Regions from separate parts of the Homo sapiens genome. Here region 2 is linked to region 1. The links are contacts of gene promoters, found by promoter capture Hi-C in blood cells and fetal thymus (Javierre and others, 2016). All regions are on one chromosome and are shown on one strand. The core of a region is centred on a gene start or on the middle of the fragment in contact, and the rest is flanking DNA. Distances in the headings are between cores, read along the strand shown. Region 1 holds the start of ANKRD49 (ankyrin repeat domain 49). Region 2 overlaps CHORDC1 (cysteine and histidine rich domain containing 1).

Region 1 (4,446 bases), core at 1,947-4,446:
AAAATATAGATGATTGCTTGCTATCTTTATAGATAATTATCCTTAAACCCCCAAATAATACCTAGCATGACACTTTGCAGCTTAATATGTGCTTTCATGTACATTGTCTCATTTGGTCCTCACAATCAAGAGATAGGTATGATGGCCATAACAGTAAAGGCAGGTCTTCTGGCTTGAACCCAGTGCTTTTCCTACTGTCACACTTCCCTCTGTAATTTTTTTTTTTACCCGATTTTTTTCAGCAGCCCAAAGAAGCAATCTGCTTGGGTCTTTTTCCATTTTTTTTTCTTGCAATCGATACCACTCTTCATTTTTGTCATCTTGCTCCTCATCTTCATCAGAATTGCCTACCCAAAGACTTTGAGTACCAGTAGGAATAAGGTGTCCATGTGTTTCCAACAATTCAAGTTGGTTAAAGTGTTCAGAAAAATCCAAGGAATTCTCTTGGTCTGGTATTCCATCATCATTTCCTTTTTCTTTTTCCATTTTTTACTACTATTCTAAATAAAAAGCATTTCAAATGCCAGGATATAAATCTTTCTAGAGATGAATTATGACTGCTTTGTTCATCAAGATCTGAAAACACAAATACAAAAGTTATTAGTAAAACAATAATTCAGGCTTTATCAACTGCATAGATAAGTCTTGCAAACATATACAATTAAACCCTGTCTAAACTCTTGTTTTTCTCATGATATCCCTTACATACACTAAATACTGATGCTGACAGAAAACAACAAACTATGATCTAATAGTGGTCTAATGCTTCTTACTTTTGTTGTTTTCTTCTAAGTCAATTATATTATTATAACTATTATTTTTAATCTACTGGTTTAGGTATGATGGTGTTATGCTAACAGTGATGAATGCTTAAAGGTTTTGAAGTATAACTAATACAATGAAGACAGGTGCATTCAAGATTTTTATAAACTAGACACACAGATAATATAGAGCAGAAATAAAAACTTCTAATTCCTAAAAATACTATTTCGAAGAATCAGGGATTCTTGAAGATGGAATAGCCCCCAAAAGGACATCTGTTCCAATCTGTCATCGGTACATATATCTTTATCACAGCATCTACACTAATTATCCTATTTCTACTTTGATAATTTCAGGCCTAGGAAAATTCACTGCTTTAAAAAGTAGTCCTGTTTATTGATAGGCAACTATAGTTCTTAGTTGGGTCCTTGTTTTCAACTGAATTTTGGCTGTCATTCATTCCTTCATTCAACTAATATGAATAGAATGTCTGGTATGTGCCAACTTCTGGGTACTGGGATTCAATAATGAGCAAGATCCATGTCTTCACCTCAGGAAGCTTACTCTAGTGTAGGTGACTGGCAAAGACATCATGTGTCTGGCAAAGACAACATGATAAGTACTACTACAAGACCTTGTCTAGAAACCATGAGTATACAGGAGGTTCATAATTCCCCTAGTCCTAAGGGATTAAAGAAGGCTTCCTGAAGGAACTGATGTTTATTCTGCTAAGCTGCCATATTAATTTTTAAACCAATATCAGCTTAAAGGGTTACACAACATATAAACCTTAATCAATTAAAGAAAAGGAGAATAACCAATAGATAATTTACAAATACGAATTCCCAGCCTCTCAACTCTATTTGTTGAAATATAATCAGTCTTTCAAGGCTCTTCTCTGATGTTATCTCTTTCATTCTTTCTTGATCCTCTCATTTAGATCGCTTTCTGCTTTCTACTTTTTTTGGTGCTACATTTCACCTCTAACTTTGTTCTTGTTTTAGCCCCTTAAAAGATTATAAGCTGAAAGATAAGGACCACATTTAACTTATATTTATCTCCTACTTGTCTATAGAAGGCATTAAGAAGTATGTGTAGCATTACATTTAATTAAAGTCTTGTCACTTGATTTTGCCTGGAATGGATTCTGAGAAGTTCCAGAGTTAGGCATAACCCCAAGATACTGATTTCTTGATACCTAATCTCACAAGTTTAACAGTATACAATCTTAATGTGGTATTAAACTTTATTACTAGTGGCAATAGCACTAAACTCAAGTTTAAATGTATTACTCATGTCCAGTAACTTTTCTGGTCCTGTTACTTTATTGTAAAATGTAAGAATTTTACTAAAGTATTCCTAAGGCCAATCCGGCTTTTCAGTCACCCAATCAGAGACACCCTTGGAATCAGAGATATCCAATCAGAATTGCTCTGTGTTTTATTAATTCTCCTGGAGCTTCCACTTTTTCTTTGATTCTCAAACTAATTCCTGAACCTTGCAACACAAAAATGACCATACATCAATTCATTAAACACTTAACAGATGCTAATAAATAAAAGTTCACTTGTAATTATATCAAATATAGTAACCTTATACCACAGATCTTACCCTCTCCCCCAACATGCTTTTCCTTTCAATAAAAACTCCCTTTATATAAATTTTGAGTTTACAGATCCAGATACAAAAAATTATGTACAAAATTTTACTGGTATATTTAGTTTAAAAAGCCAAGCCTAGGCGCATCTACCCGACTTACAGTTAAGAAACAAAACTGATGACTTGATGATGATATTCCTGATATTCCATCAGGAATGTCAGGGTATGTTTCCTAACTTAAAGGGCATATCCTATTTTGAGAGAGATCCGAACTATGTCAACTCCTTACAAACAACTCAGTGATAGGCGGGGCTATAAACCTTACTGGTGAAGGAGGTTCAGATAGATTAAAACAACTTGCCCTAGATCAAGGACCCTTCAATGGAACTGAAAGGGCAGACGTTCTAATTCAAAAGTTCTACATTATTTTTCGCTGCACTATACATCTTACTGCTCTCAGCACAAAGCAGTGCAGATGTGCTGAACTCAAGGACCTAGGGGCGACACCTGTAGAGGGTCTGGCGACTGGGAGGGAGGGAGAGGGGATCCAGCTCCGGCACTCTGCCACCAGCCGGGAGCTCACAGGCCCGTGAGCTCCGCCTGCGGCCTTCCAAACAGCCAAGAGCGGAGAAGCGGCTTCGGTCCTACCTGGGGACCACGAAGCGGCCTGACCTGCAGGGCTCGGCCTGTGTCCACAGGCTACCCACCCCCACGGGCTCAGGAGTTCTTAGATGGCGCCGGTCCATCAAAAAGCGAGGTCCGGGACAGGGAATAACAACCCACCTGACAGAAGGGAAAATCGCCGCCTTGCATCTCACTTCCGGGTTCGTCTCCTAGCCTGCTCAGGATTGGCTCCTGCGTGAGGGCGGGGCCTCGCCGCTACTTTCCCCGCCCCCTCACTGCGTGCGGTAGCCAATGAGAGCCGAACTGGACTTGAAGCATCTACGTTATCCATGAAGTGTCGCGAGAGAAACGGACGCCGTTCTCTCCCGCGGAATTCAGGTTTACGGCCCTGCGGGTTCTCAGAGGCAAGTTCAGACCGTGTTGTTTTCTTTTCACGGATCCTGCCCTTTCTTCCCGAAAAGAAGACAGCCTTGGGTCGCGATTGTGGGGCTTCGAAGAGTCCAGCAGTGGGGTAATTTAGGAATCGCATTCGTCTCCTGTTTCTGCAGGTTCCCAGGCGGAAGCCCAGAGTTAACTGGAACCTCGGGAAGAGCGGGCCGAGTGGGCAGGGGAGGGGTCCTGGCGGGCTCAGCGTTCTGATTCCGAGGTTCCCTGCGGTGAGGGCGTGTTGAGGCTTGGAATCCCGACGGAATCTGGAGCTCCAGATGTGGTGGGGGTTGTCTCGCGGTGGCAGCCACTCTTCCCCAAACCTGGCTATTTTCAGTCATCCTGCTGGTGCTTAAAGGTGTTCCTCCGCAGACCACGTGTTTGTTTATTTACACTCGCTTTAAACGCGGGCCCGTTCCCTTTTCCAAACTAGCCAGGTCCTTTAAAAAAAATCGTGGGGTTTGAATAGGAAATACAGGATTGCCTCTGTTCTCCAGAGTAACCTATGCGTGCAACTTAAAAATATCTGCACATCTAGAGTTGTTTGTGTGTTGAACCAGAACCGTATGTGACCCTTTCTGCCCATTTATTTAGCATACATTAATTTCCCATAAGAGCACGGGAAAGGAAAATAGGAGTTTAATCATCTTGGTGAAACTAGGAAACAGGATGTACACTGGAGATATATTATTTTCTATGCTCAGTTCATTAAAAAAAAGTATAGTGGGTGCTTAGATGAAAATGAGACTTCTAAATTTGCCAGTCTAATTAAGACGTCTGTACCTTGTGCAGCGTAAATCATGTTGGTTAAATACGTGCAGGCTTTTAAAAAATGTGTTTTATGATGTAATTTTGTTTTTAGAATTTCTAGAATTTGGAATCGAGTGCATTTTCTGACATTTGAGTACAGTACCCAGGGGTTCTTGGAGAAGAACCTGGTCCCAGAGGAGCTTGACTGACCATAAAAATGAGTACTGCAGATGCACTGTAAGCACCTGACTTCTGGAATCCCTTGTTATTTGGGGTTTCTAAAGC
Region 2 (7,748 bases), core at 2,927-5,426, 4.3 Mb after region 1:
ACTGTATTTTAAAGTATTGTTTATATCTCAGCTGATTTGGGGGTAAGATTTTATAATGACTCCCATTAAAAAAAATTAAATTACTTCTATGAAACTATTTTAAATGAAAATTTCTGTATAGTAGACTTACTGCTGAACCATTCTGGAGATACTGTAGTAGATTTATCAAGTAATATAGTACTTAGTTCTCAATATGAAACTTGAAGCCAGTTATTCTTTTTTGTCAGTGGCTTTTCTCATATGAAACAATACAGTATTGGCAGTTTCTTAAAATAGCTTAATTCATTTTTGTCAGTCTTATTTTTATAATCAGTGTTTGATAGCATAAATCTTCAGTTTGAATTAGATCAATTAACTGTGTATATCTTTTTCAGTTAAATGTGCATATTGTATTTGAAGGAGAGAAGGAATTTGATCAAAATGTGAAATTATGGGGTGTAAGTATTACAAATTTATAAGAATTTTTTTTCTGATAACTTAGATCATTTGTAGAATAAAAGACAATTCTTCAGTAAACATTGATGCAAAGTATAGATGTATAACTTAACAGTGTATCCTACCAAAAAGTTTAAGACTAGATATAAAAGAGGCCTTTAGAAGCTTGGATTTGGGATTATTGGCATAAGCAAGTCTGATGTTTTCCTCTGAGACTAATAAAACTACTGAGGTTTCCTGTAATTCTCTTTGATATGTTACAGGTGATTGATGTAAAGCGAAGTTATGTAACTATGACTGCAACAAAGATTGAAATCACTATGAGAAAAGCTGAACCGATGCAGTGGGCAAGCCTTGAACTGCCTGCAGCTAAAAAGCAGGAAAAACAAAAAGATGCCACAACAGATTGAGTGGGAGATGGAAGGAAGGCTATTACATTATTTCCGAATTTTTAATACTGTGTGAAGTGGTGGCTTGCTGCTGTAATCTTTTGTTTTGTTGTTGTGTTACTGAATGTGGCATTTCAGGGTTAACATTAGGTTCTTAAAAGCCAAAGTCAGTTTGTCTTTTTGTGCCTCTCATCTTTCTTTTGTGTTATGTAAGATTGATTATTCATTTCTCCCTACTGGTAGGAACCATAGTTGTGTCCTATACTTGAAGAGGCTGGAAAGTAGCCCATAACCATAATTGCAGTATTTCTTTGTATTTCTCTGTTAAGCAAAGAAATATTAAGGAACATTTTTTTTATGTTTTTGTATTATTCCATAATTAGTAAAGCAAGATGAAATGTCAAATTTTAATCAGTTTTTTCATGGATTTGTGTTCTTACAGTACTTGAAAATATTTAAGGAAGAGATGAAGCTCTGCAGTTTTTTCTATGTGGGATGATTACTTTTTTAAGGAGGATTAATTCTGAGGTAGTATAGTAACTAAAGGGGAATATATGAATTGTTTAACAAATTAGAATTTGTTTACAACTACTTGAATTTTTAAATTATGTCAAAACTTACATTACTTGCCAAGCAGTATGATGTTATAGGAAACATAAATAAGATTACAGAGGTATCAATTTGGTTAAAATTCACCATTTTATAAGACTAAGCAATAATCTTAACAACCTCTTTCCTGAATATTTAAATGTGTTTGTATGGTGTTATGACTAATTGTTACTGATTTAGAGACTAAGCCCTCTTAAAACCTTTAGTTAAATATAAAAAGAAATTATATATATCTTGCCTCCCTGATGGAAAACTATATAAAATTGTAGACTTAAAAGGTTTGTGGAAATACATTAGGATATCAGAAAACTAAATATATGGAGTTGCTTTATGACTATTACATGTTAAATAAAAATAGCTTAATTGTTTTGGAGTTTTTTTTTAAAGTCATGAAGAGCTTCACAATTCTAGTGATACAATGTTGACTATATATTGTACTTTATATTAAATATAGGTAATACAGAATTAGATCGTTTGGATAGGTTTTGAGTTAGTGCAGAACTCAAGAAGAAAAATTAGGAAATATTCTGAAGGCCAGAACTCTGGAAGAACTTAGAAAGTTTGGGAATAAATTAAACTTATGTAGATTTAAAATTAAAAGGGGTTTATTTCCCAAACCCCTTGAGTCTTTTCTTTTCCTTGGTATTTATGGAATTCTTACAAAGAAAAATTTGCAGAAGTACTATTTTCGTGAATAAAACATATGTATCATTCTACTACCATTAGCAAATAACTTAGTTGTAGTTAATATAATTGTTAAAAGGTTTAGCTCTGTTACAAATAAAAACATAAAGATCTGGCAACCAGACTTTCATGATGTTACATTACCATGACAAGAAACTCTGGGCAGTAAAAGTTGGACCCACATGGAGTACATAAGCATCTGATACCTGGAGATGTATTTAAAATTTTTCAAGTTATCTTCCATGATTTAGGAACCATTTAGAGACATGAAGTCTTTATGGGTTGGGGGAAAGGTTGATAATTAGTTTGATTAAAGGTAATGATTAATATCCCTTTTTGTTCATACTTCCTTCTGAGGCTGTTTTCCCCTAAACAGTATCTTAATCTGTTACATGTAATTGAAATATTATTTGAAGCAGTGAGTTATTGTAACCTCAGATTAGTTACATTGATCAAAACATTGATTTATACACACACACACACACATACATATGTAGCTTTTATATTTAGTCTGGTTACATTAGTGACCATGGTATTTACTTTCTTCTTAAGGAGCCTTTGAATTTCTTGTCCAGATAAAAATCCGAATATTTCTCTTAGACTCATACATAAAGGGACACAGTTATCGTTAGGTAGCATATGTTTTACTATCGGTTTGTCAAAAAAGTTAATAAAAAGTGCTTATTGATTTATTTCTCTAGAAATTTGCTTTGTCTTTTTTAGCATTAAAAATAATTACTATAGCAAAGCAGTCAAAGTTAGGTATATTATATATATACTTGGTAACTAAAGATGGGAAACCTAAAATGCTATTTTTCTTTCATAGCACATTTACTAGTATAAAGGAAGTAAGATCCTAATAAACTGAGCCTTTATTTAACTTCTTTGACCTAGTTTTAGGTTTACAGAAAAGTTGTAAAAATACAACAGTTCTTTATGTCTTATATTAATCTTAATGTTAAAATCTTACGTTATCATAGAACATTTATAAAACTTAAGAAATTAACCTTTGTATAATACTATTAACTAAAGTAGAACATTTTATTTTTACCATCTGTTTTTAGTGGAATTCTTCAAGGTCTTAAGACTTGTCCTACTTTTTTGGTAATAATTTAAGCCAGTAATTTATAAACAATTAAGATATGATTAGGAATCAACAAATGTTTATAGGTTGAAGATGTAACTTCTTGGTGTAACTATACTGGCAAAGGACTGTAATGATTTTACTTTATTCTAATTTATATTTTATGCAAGGATTTAATTAAGAATTTTCTTCAGAAAATTATTCAACCATCAAAGTGTAGAGAAACTTAAAGAGTTCTTGCAAATATTTTAAAGGGACTTTGAGTTATTTCCCCTCTCCGAACTCCCAATTTTTTTTTTTTTTTTAATCAGTTATTCCTCAGCCTGAAAATTTATGTCATGCGTATACTCACAGTAAGTAAACTTTTTTTTTTTTATTTTTTTTATTTATTTATTTTTTTTTTTTTGAGACGGAGTCTCGCTCTGTCGCCCAGGCTGGAGTGCAGTGGCGGGATCTCGGCTCACTGCAAGCTCCGCCTCCCGGGTTCACGCCATTCTCCTGCCTCAGCTTCCCAAGTAGCTGGGACTACAGGCGCCCGCCACTACGCCCGGCTAATTTTTTGTATTTTTTTTTTTTAGTAGAGACGGGGTTTCACCGTTTTAGCCGGGATGGTCTCGATCTCCTGACCTCGTGATCCGCCCGCCTCGGCCTCCCAAAGTGCTGGGATTACAGGCGTGAGCCACCGCGCCCGGCCAAGTAAACTCTTAAAAGCTCATTTATGAGGGCTGGTGTCCCTTTTAGGATATATGGGTATGTACTCTGTAAATTTTGTTTTTAGCAGTCAGGTACTTTTAAATTATCTATTTGAACATTAACAGGGTTTTTTTTTGTTGTTCATCTTTTATGGCAAATTATTTTGACTTGGCATTCATATTTGTTATTTACTTTGTTTTCACCAGTATAATTCCATGGCCTCAGTTTTGAAATGCAAGCTATTAAGCCCAGCTTGTTTTTAGGTTTTGTTAATAGGGTTTTCTGTTTCATTTGTTTTGATTGTTTGATAGGTTTTTTGTTGTTGTTGTTAATTATCCCTGACTGCTTCCCTACTGCCCAGGTATCTTAACAACTTAATCTGGTGGTGTTGGATGGCTTGCCTTCTTCAGTTACGTATATGCCTATGGCTTTATACATATGGCACTATCTCTAAAATACCAGGCTTGCAGAGGTTTTCTTCTGCATGTTCTTTAACTTTTTAACAGAATTCTTCATTGTGAAGATTATCTTTAAGAACAGTTTTTCTGAAGACCATGTTTTCACTAAAAACTCAATGACTTTTCTTAGTTTTTCCGTTTAGTGGGTCACCTTTAATGTCCATTGAAAAGAAATATAACTTCCAGCCTTAAACATTTTTATGTTTCTTAAAGATTATGTGTCAAAATAATTCAATTTGCCATTCCTTTTTCATTAGGCAGAGATGCTGCTTAAATGTTTAAATTATTTTTTAAAAACTTTGCTAATAAAAGTAAAATCAGTGATTGAGTCTGGAAAAGGGAAACCTCCCTGAACTTGAGGCACTTTCCCCTCGTTCAGTAAAGAGGTTAGATGGATGTATTAATATTTTTAAACACCCTGATCCTTTTCTTCATTTTGCTTATTTCATTTTGCAGTTTCATATTTATTCAGATTTTATTTTTATGATTAACTTGTTAATCTTCTTTACCATGCTGTGAGGTGGGTTTTTTTATTCTTATATTACAGATGAGGAAACTGACTTTATGACATTGGTTAAGTAGCTTATCCAGAGTTCAGACTAATGAGTTGTGGTATAAAGATTTCAAACTCATGCAGCCTGCCTCTGTGTTGTTCCATGCTCTTAACCACTATTCTGTGCTGCTTCTGATATAACATGGGCATATAGCATGGAAAACTCTTAATGTGTTTGGTAACCAGGAACAATTTTTTTGTTGTGTTAGTAAAGTTATAAAATTATGTAGTAATTTTGCCTGGATGGTTTTGGATATAATAGCCAATTCATCACTTGTGATTTGATGACTCTTAGGGTCTCTAGTTTTTCTTAACAGCCTCCAAATTGAAGTTTCAGAATCCTTACTGCAAAAAGCACAAAAGTTTTCATTGCCATTTTGATAGTGATATGTAGCTCGTAAATAATAATTCTTACCTCTGTGTTAGATAAAACATCCAGTAAAACAGCATCAAGTTTAGCTTTGATAGAAGGGAACAATTAGAGTTGGTGTAGAGACAGACCAGTTAGGATGAGGGCATGAAATACAGCAGAAGCAGTAGGAAGAGAAGAGAGACTGAGGATCTTGAATTAGGGTCTAGATGAAAATTTAGGATGATTCCTAGGTTTGGGAATGGAGGGAGAGCTTAAACAAGATAGAGAATATAGACACAGATTTTGGAGGAAATGATTTTCTCAAGGGACTGCTGAGTCCAAGGAATGTTTACAAATCCTCAAGAAGTACTCCAGGCTATTTGTAAGATCTGAGGCTCATAGGCCTTTTCTGGCTCTCAGGATTTAGAGTCGTAATAGGCAGTAATGTAAATTCACTAGCTAACTTTGAGGTTGCAACATTCATAGCACTCTGAACTTTGAGGGCATCTTGTTTTAATTCAAAAAACTGGTAATCCCTGCTTTTGATTGTGATGTAAGTAGCAGTACACAAGCATGGGAATAAGTAAATCCAATAAAGGAGTATTTAGGCTCACCTGCTAAATACTCAGTGTGCCACCCAAACCATCTGTAATGGGTCCCCTTATTGAAAACATTCTTTTTCCAGAATGGGCAAGGAAGGCTGGATGGGCAAAAGCAAAATAAATGTACCACAGACCCTTGATTCTGTTAGTATCAGTGATAAAACATGATTGATAAAACTAGGCATGATACATTCTTAAGGTACAGAAAAATGTGGAAATTGTGTCAAGAAAATTCACAAATTTTAAATGGTTCTTTAGGCTGATAGTAATAAATGGGATCATTATAATTTTATGTAAAACCTTCAAAGGCTTCCTACTAAAGAAAGCTGAATTCCAGTAACAGATTGAGCCCAGACTACTCAGTTCATATTTGAGGCCAACTTAGACTATTTTTGATGCCTTAAAGATTCCTTCAAGTCCCCTTTCTCTTTCTACCATACCCCCAGTAAAGCTACTTAAAATCCTCTGTAGGAAAGAGCTGAGTAATTGGGGGCAGAGATGGAGGACAAATTTAAGGGAACAGAAAGCCATTGGGAAGACAAATGAAAGCCAGAATCTGAAGATAATTTTAAAACCTTCAGGGAAAGTAGGTGTCTAATCACAGGACTTAATTCACTTGAGTAGAAATTTGTAATTTAGCCATAGGAATTTAGGAAGTGTTAGTTACAAGAGGTAACTTGAAGCTGTGGACATGATGATAGCTTTTGTTGCATAATTAGAATGTGCCAAACACTTTGCTAAGTGCTTATGATAGCTTTTCTCTTCAGAACATCACCATGATTATTTACAGTATAACCTGTATTTTACAGATGGAGAAATGTAGGCAAAGGAAAGGGGCATAACTTGCCTCCAGGGTCACATAGATAGCAAATGATGAAATTTAATTTTAAAATTAGAAACTGATTCCAAAGTCCTTACACTCTTAACCATGAAACTGAAGACATCTAAGTCACCACGCAAAACCCAGAATCTAAATGGCCATTTATTAGTGCTTATTCCTTTATTTCCTAATATTAATTAAATGACTTAATTACCATGAGAAGATAATGTGCTTTCAGTTTTCGCAGTAGTTAGTTCAGCCATTGATTTTCTTACTAAGAACCTCTAAAAGGCCAATGGGCAGTTGACAAAAATTAGGGATGGATTCTGCAGCTGTAAGACCAAGTGAAAGTAAAAGGCCCATGGCGGTAAATTTGTCCCTTGCAGGCAGTTTGTTCTAAATGCTTGTGCCTAGAAATAAACTTAGCCTTATTATCATCTGGACTCTGAGCAATTTTTGCATCTCAGTATTCTTAGATGTGGATGATTAAAAGGCCACGTATGAAGGCAGCTAACATAAGACACTTTGTGGGAGTGAGATAATTCATTAAAATCAAATATTAGTGTATTAGGCAAACAAATTCAATCATTTCAGTTATGTAAAGCTAGCTGGGTTCTCAGTTTTAGCAAGTTAGGGAAGATATCACATTACAGGAGAAAGACAATCTAAAAGTTTTTGAAGTTTTAATGGATTTAACCACTTGTAAAATGTTATAAATTGTAGGACACTTCTCCCAGAGAGATCCTCTAGCATACATGGATGATTTACTTTTCATATTTATGATTTGGCAGGAAAGTTTGAGTTCATTTGAAGTTAGGCTTTTTAATAGTTTTTCTCCTCCCAGTGAATTTTTCTGAGTTGATAGGTGTAAAATTTATAGATTTTATTGATAATAAAAGTTTGTAAGCATCTTTAATGTAGCGATTCCATTGCTTATTTTTTATTCAGCACTCAGGTCACTTCCTATGTGCTGGAGATAATTAAAGACTCCACTTCCAAGAAAGGATACAACAAGGAAAATAAGAGGTTGTTAAATAAAAATTATGCCAAAGATAAGCCTGTAGAAAGC

The links. Contacts are between HindIII fragments. The CHiCAGO score rates a contact against its expected background, and 5 or more counts as called.
Region 2: a contact is called between a fragment that was not itself captured here and the fragment with the promoter of ANKRD49 in region 1, in 2 of 17 cell types (total B cells and activated CD4 T cells). The highest score is 7.0, in total B cells.

Annotation. Positions count from the first base shown.
Region 1 is chr11:94,492,734-94,497,179 of GRCh38, reverse strand. It overlaps ANKRD49 (ankyrin repeat domain 49), which reads right to left and starts at 3,196. Exons shown (of 3, transcript NM_017704.3): 1 at 3,145-3,196; 2 at 229-576. The coding sequence starts at 486. It overlaps MRE11 (MRE11 double strand break repair nuclease), which reads left to right and starts at 3,336. Exons shown (of 20, transcript NM_005591.4): 1 at 3,336-3,389; 2 at 4,274-4,398. The coding sequence starts at 4,379. RefSeq lists an enhancer at 2,897-2,986. The HindIII fragment of the contact is 5,313 bases long and covers 1,324-4,446 here.
Region 2 is chr11:90,195,502-90,203,249 of GRCh38, reverse strand. CHORDC1 (cysteine and histidine rich domain containing 1) reads left to right here. Exons shown (of 11, transcript NM_012124.3): 10 at 375-437; 11 at 699-2,821. The coding sequence ends at 845. Among named protein-coding and RNA genes, the nearest start is that of CHORDC1, 24 kb to the left of the region's middle. The HindIII fragment of the contact is 7,147 bases long and covers 603-7,748 here.